Regions from separate parts of the Homo sapiens genome. Here region 1 is linked to region 2. Evidence: promoter capture Hi-C in human tissues and cell types (Jung and others, 2019). All regions are on one chromosome and are shown on one strand. Each heading gives the region's core, a stretch centred on a gene start or on the middle of the fragment in contact. The rest is flanking DNA. Distances are from core to core; before and after follow the strand shown.

Evidence for each region. Contacts are between HindIII fragments. The study calls those that stand out against the background at their distance.
Region 1: a fragment that was not itself captured here is called in contact with the fragment with the promoter of THY1 in region 2 in 2 of the 25 tissues and cell types used here (dorsolateral prefrontal cortex and hippocampus).

The regions. Positions count from the first base shown.
Region 1 is chr11:120,152,696-120,156,132 of GRCh38, reverse strand. No RefSeq gene overlaps it. Among named protein-coding and RNA genes, the nearest start is that of TRIM29, 16 kb to the right of the region's middle. The HindIII fragment of the contact is 4,875 bases long and covers 1-3,437 here.
Region 2 is chr11:119,421,385-119,424,523 of GRCh38, reverse strand. It overlaps THY1 (Thy-1 cell surface antigen), which reads left to right and starts at 1,352. Exons shown (of 4, transcript NM_006288.5): 1 at 1,352-1,411. The region is part of intron 2 of USP2-AS1 (USP2 antisense RNA 1); the gene reads right to left. RefSeq lists enhancers at 1,474-2,039, 2,040-2,606. The HindIII fragment of the contact is 13,176 bases long and covers 1-3,139 here.

The DNA of each region.
Region 1 (3,437 bases), core at 800-3,299, 730 kb before region 2:
GAATATCTTATGTCTGTTAAAGGAATTACATTCATAGTTTTTAAAAAGTGAAACCTTTTTCATAAAGAAAACTCCAGGATCAAGTGGTTTCACGAGTGCATTCTACCCCCAGGTGTATTGGTAAATGTTTTACACCTGGCACTCTAGAAAAAACAACAACCTGTTTTGTAGCATTTGCCACTTTCCATAGTGTAAATATTCCCGCTATGGTCAATTTCATGCTACCAATGTGATGTCAATCATCATGGAGATAAAAAGAGATGTGCATATATATGCACAAATATATATAAAGATAATACCATATAAATGAAAGTCATAAATATCCTAATAGCATTGATATTAATAAAATGTAGCAAAATATTTAAGATATGATAAGTATTCATTCCATATGGATTACTTTTGCTTTTAACATAATTTATTTAATTTTTAATACTGGCTGTATTTAACAGCTGGCTTACAAAATTTCTGAGAATTTGAAAGTACATTGTCATGGGCCAGTACAAGCCATTTCTGGGATGCTAAACATTTTTAAAAAAATACCAATTCTACAAAAACTGTTGCAGAAAAGAGACGGGGAGGAAACATTTCTAAACAGAATTTTAGCAGAAAAAAAATCAGCAATATATACAAAGAATAACAAAGTGTGATCAAATGGGATTTATCCTAGGAATTCAAGGTTGGCTTAACATTCAAAAGTCAGTTTTTTTAAGTTTTAAAATCTTTATTTATTTATTTTATTTAAATAGCTTTGGGGGTACAAGTGGTTTTTACCTACATGGATGAATTCTATAGTGGTGAATTCTGAGATTTTAGTGCACCCATCACCTGAGCAGTGTAACTGTACCCAGTATGAAGTCTTTTATCCCTCACCTCGCTCCCAACCTCCCCACCCACAAATCCCCAAAGTTCATTATATCACTCTGTATGTCTTTGCATCCTCATTGCTTAGCTCCCACTTACAAGTAAGGATATACAGTATTTGGTTTTCCATTCCTGAGTCATTTCTCTTAGAATAATGGCTTCCAGTTCCATCCAAATTGCTGCAAAAGACATTATTTCTTTCCTTTTTATGGCTGAGTAGCATTCCACAGTGTATGCACATCACATTTTCTTTATCCACTCATTGGTCTATGGGCACTTAGATTGATTCCATATCTTTGCAATTGTAAATTGTGCTGCTATCAGCGTGAGTATGCCTGCATGTATGTGTGTGTCTTTTTTGTATAATGACTTCTTTTTCTCTGGGTAGTTACCCAGTAGTAGGGTTGCTGGATTGAATGGTAGATCTACTTTTAGTTTCACAAGTCAATTTATATACAACTTGAATGAACCTTGGAGACACTCTGTTGAGTAAAATAAGCAGTCGTAATAGGACAAATAGTGTATGATTCCACTTATATGAGATATTTAAAGTAGTCAAAGTCATGAAAACAGAAAGTAGAATGGTGGTTTCGTCGAGTTGGGAAGGGGGAATGGGGAGTTGTTGTTTGATGGGTATAGAGTTTTAGTTTTGCAAGATGAAAAACTTCTAGAGATCTGTTATACAACAATGTGAATGTAGTTAACACTACTGAACTGTATACTCAAAAATGATAAATGGTAAGTGTTATGTGTTTTTAACCACAATTTTTAAAAAGTCAATCTATAATTTATCATATGTGGTAGTCATAATATCTATGTCCTAATCCACAGAACTTGTGAATATACTACTTTATGTAGCAAAAGATATTTTGCAGATATGATTGTTAAGGATTTTGAGATGGGAGATTATTCTGGATTATCAGGATGGGCCCAATGTAATCACAAAGATCCTTGTACCTAAAAGAGGGAGGCAGGAGAGTCAGACAAAAAGATGTGTCATGACAGAAGCAGAGATTGGAGTGATATAAATGCTGGCTTTGAAGATGGAAAAAGTCATGAGCCAGGGAACATGTGCAGCCTCTACAAGCTGGAAAAGGCAAAGAAACGGGTTATCTTCTAGAGCCTTCAGAAAAGATGCAGCCCTGCCAACATCTTGATTTTAGCCCATTTTGGGCTTCTGACCTCCAAAACTATAAGATAATAAATTTGTGTTGTTTTAAGCCACTAAGCTTGTTACGGCAGCAATAGAAAATGAATGTATCATATAAACAGATCTAAAAAGGAAAAAAACATGATCATGTCAGTAGATTCAGGGAAAGCTTTTGACAAAATTCAACAAGACAAATTTATCAAGATTCATGATAAAATCTTAGCAAATTAGGGATACAAGGGAACTTACACAATCTGGAAAAGGGCATCTATTTAAAAATACCCTACAATTGACATTATACTTAGTAGTGAAAAATGGGATGTTTTTCCTCTCAGATTAGGAACAAAGCAAGTAAGTCTGTTATAACTATTTCTATTCGACAGTGTACTGGAGGTCCTAGCCAGTGCAAGAATTCAAGAAAAAGAAAAAAGGCACAGATGAGAAGATTCAAAATTGTTTTTATTTATAAACAATATAATTTTCTCTCTAGAAAATCTTAGGAAATCCACAAGCAAGCTAAGACACTACAGTTAATAAATGAGTTTAGCAATGTTGCAGGATATGGGTTCAATACACAAAAATTAATTATTATTATTATTATTTTTGAGAGGGAGCCTCAGTCTGTCACCCAGGCTGGAGTGCAGTGGCACAATCATGACTCACTGAAGCCTTAAGCTCCTGGGCTTAAGCAATCCTCCCACCTTAGCCTGCCACGTAGCTGTGACTACAGGCCTGTGCCACCACACCTGACTGACTTTTTTATTTTTAAATTTTTTGTAGAGACAGGGTCTTGCTACGTTACCCAGGCTGTTCTCAAATTCCTGGCCTCTAGCTGGAGTTGCCACCTTGGCCTCCTAATATGCTAGTATTACAAGTGTGAGCCACTGTGCCTGGCCTAATTGTATTTCTATATACTAGAAACTAACAATTGGAATTTAAATGGAAAATAACATTTATGATGGCATGAAAACATGAACTAGTTAAGAGTAAATTAGCAAAAATTTGTATAGTACACTAAAAACTACAAAACTGCTGGGAGAAGTTAAAGAAGATCTAAATAAATAGAGAAACATACCATGTTCATGGTATGTATTGATATTATTAAGACTTGCTATTGTTAAGCTGTCAATTCTCCCCAAATTGATCTTCAGATTTAATGTACTCTCAGTCAAAATCAGAGCAGATTTTTGAAGAATTTTGTAATCTGATCCTAAAGTTCATATGGAAATGCCATGGATCATAATAGGTACAAAAAATTATGAAAAACGAAGACCAAGCTTGGAGGACTTACTACCTGATTTTTAAGACTTACAACAAAGTAGTAGTAATTAGATAGTGTATTATGGAATAAAGTAAACATTTAGATCACTGAACAGAATAGAGAGTCCAGAAATAGATTTATATATATGTAGATAACTGATTTTTC
Region 2 (3,139 bases), core at 103-2,602:
CGAATCTCCTCCCACTTGCAAGCTTCCAACAGTGGCTTCCAACAGTGCCACTGCAGTATCAGAAACTGCAGGGAAGGTGCCAGGGCTGACTTCCATGAAGAAATAGGAGAACAGGCAGGCAGACATTGGGGAGGCCCACAGAATGTCGTGATCAGAATTCATAAAGAGGCTGGCAGGATACAAATCAATCAAATAAACGTTAGTTCAAAAAAATTCACTACACCTGTGAGTGAGAGAAAGTCATCAGCACTGTCTCTAAAAATGAGCCTAGGGCTTCTGGTGACATCCAATCGGTGGGTTATCAGGAGTGCCCCAGGTGATCAGGAGTTGGCCTCGACTCAGTCCTTTTTGTGCTGTCTCCTCCTCTTTCCCAGAGTTCCTCTCTCTCTTCTCCCACTAGGCAGGGATGAGCAAGAGGAATGGCTCACCCTTGAGAGCTGGGGTCCATAGCCCAGGTCAGTTCTCCAGCTCTCCCACTTACCAGCCAAGACAGGAGGTGAGGATTGAGATGGGATGAACCCAGCAGGCGGCCATGGGTTAAAGGTCGCCATGAATGTAATGTGCCCAGCACAGTGCCTGCTAAAAGGCAACACTCCCTTCCTGGTCTGAAGACCAAACAAGCAGACTGTACTCAGGAAAGCCAGAAGAACCTTCCAGCTGTCTGGACCAGAAGGTGCCAGCCCAGGGGCTGAAGAAGACGTAATGCCCAGAGCAAAAAGCGCCTGCAGCCCCCTGAAGGGCTGGGTGCTCTGGAATAGATGAGGGGGCGAAATGGGGCTGGGGACCAGGGACGGACAGGGTGGGTCCAGCACCTGCCTCGCTTCCGAAGGGCTGCTCCAACACTGAAAAACACCCAACCAGCTTCCTTTCAGAAAGACTGGAATATTCCAAAACTTCTCACTGGAGGCTCCGGAGGAGGTGGGCTCCAGCTGAAAAGGAAATGTGGAGGCGTGGGCGCTCCCGGCCTGCATCCTGCACCTCTTACACTTTGGTTTTCCCACAGACTCCTGAAGAATAGGTCAGAAGAAAGGGTTAAAGCCTTAAAAGGGGAACAACCATTGCGGGGCTCAGGGAGGAGGATAATGTTCTTTGGGCTGCCGCACCCTGATCCCCGGGGTCCCGAACCCTCCCGTCCCTGGCCAGGCCTGCCAGCCACAGGGTGAGGGCCCCCTTCCGCCGCAACCTGCCACTCTCACACCAATGCGGGACCGCCTTCTCTTCCTTCCCCACCCCCCACCCCACCCTGCCGTCCTTTCTCCCCCAATCTCCGCCTCTGATTGGCTGAGCCCCCGGCTCCCCGCTCCCCCTCTCCTCCATCCCCGGTGAAAACTGCGGGCTCCGAGCTGGGTGCAGCAACCGGAGGCGGCGGCGCGTCTGGAGGAGGCTGCAGCAGCGGAAGACCCCAGTCCAGGTGGGAACTGGAGCCGGTGGGACCTGGGGCTCGGGGACCGCCGTCAGGCGCCCATGCAAGACTTCCCAACACTAGGCTTCGGGCCACGGTCCGAGGGCGCCCAGGGAAGAAGGGCGCAGAGCTTAGGGAGGGGCCTGCTTTCCAGGCAGGGGCGGGAGGGGGATGCTTCTGCAGGGCAGGGGCCGCGTGGCACCCTGATGTCTTTCGGGGAAGGCGCTCCCGGGCTTTCGCCCGCTGGGGGACTGGTGTCTGGGGCTGGGGCGCTGGAGAACAGGGAGGAAGGGCACCAAGGACAGCCTGTGGGTCTACATTCCACCCAGACGTCCCCAAACCCAGCTCGCAGAGGCGGGGAGGAGGACGGATGAAACTGCGGGGAGAGGATGGAGGATGGCGAGCTAGAGGGAATCTGCCGGGTGACCTCGCGGCGGGCTGGGTGCGGGGCACCGGAGGAGAAGGAAGCCGCAGTGCCGCAGGCGGGGACTGGGTGGAAGGCGGGCGGACGGGGGAGGGGAGAGCTGGAAAAGGATGAGAGAGGGGGAAGGGGGACTCATTTGGGAAAGGAGAGGATTGGAATACGGAAATGGATTAAGGATGAGGCCCGCCGGGGGCTTGAGAGGGAGGAAGAGCAGACCTTCTCTGGGTCTGGAGCCGCCTGAGGACACAGACCAGAGGAAATGAATACAGACTGCACCTCCCCAGCCGCTCTCCACCCCTCCCCTGGCTCTTCTACCCTCTCCAGCCCCAGACCCATTTCTTCCCTTTCTTGCTCTGGCCATTGCTCCCCCTTCCCCTCCTAGATCCCAAGCCCGCACAACATCTCAAACAAGAGTCCTCGATTCAAAAGCCAGATGCCGACCCCCCTTCCTCCTGGATCTGGCTCAGGGCAGCAGCTCCACCCCGGGACAGAGAGAGCATTGATTGTAGCTGCAGCCGCCGCGGGATCCTAGCCTCACCCGTCAAGGGGCTGAGCGCCAGGGACCCTGAACTCGTCTAGTGGTGCGCCCTGCGCACCCGGGCGCACTCAACCGAGGCAATGCCCTGCGCGCTCTCGCGGGTGCACGCCCCTTCTGTGGCCTCTCCTGGGCGAGCACTGCTCTGCAGATAGGCTAGACTACCGGCTCCGCGTCGCCTCGCCAAGGGTTGGTTCAGCCAAGGCTGCAAAAAACAAAAAAAGACCAGGCAGACAGCCTATCCAGGGTGGCTATTGAAACTGGGCTGGAAAACTGCAGTCCCAGGAACTCCAGAGAGCTGGACATTGGGAAGCATCCTTGGCTCACATACAATCGGAGATCACTATGTCTTTCTCTCCTCCAGGAACACGATTAGCTTGTGTCCTATCCAGATAGGAATAGATGCTCCCTATCTGGGAGCATCCTTAGCTATGGTGAATGGTATCTAGCCATCCACTGGGGATGGCGAGTGACTTAGGGATTTGTGTCTCACGTATATGAAGCAGTCATCGCCAGATGTTGGTTGTTTTTCTTAACCCCCATCATAACCCGGTGGGTATGTAAGATTCAGAGAGATTCATTCATTCATTCACAATAAATATCTTTGGAGTGTATGCTATATGCCAGTAATCTGCAAACGGAAACGGTTTTGAGCATTGGGGATTTTCTTCTGAACAGGAAATGGGAAGTCCCTAAATGGGGAGTCTTTGTTTAACAGATACAGAGTTTTACTTTGAAAGACAAAAAGAGTTCCGGAGATGGGCTGCATAGCAACGTG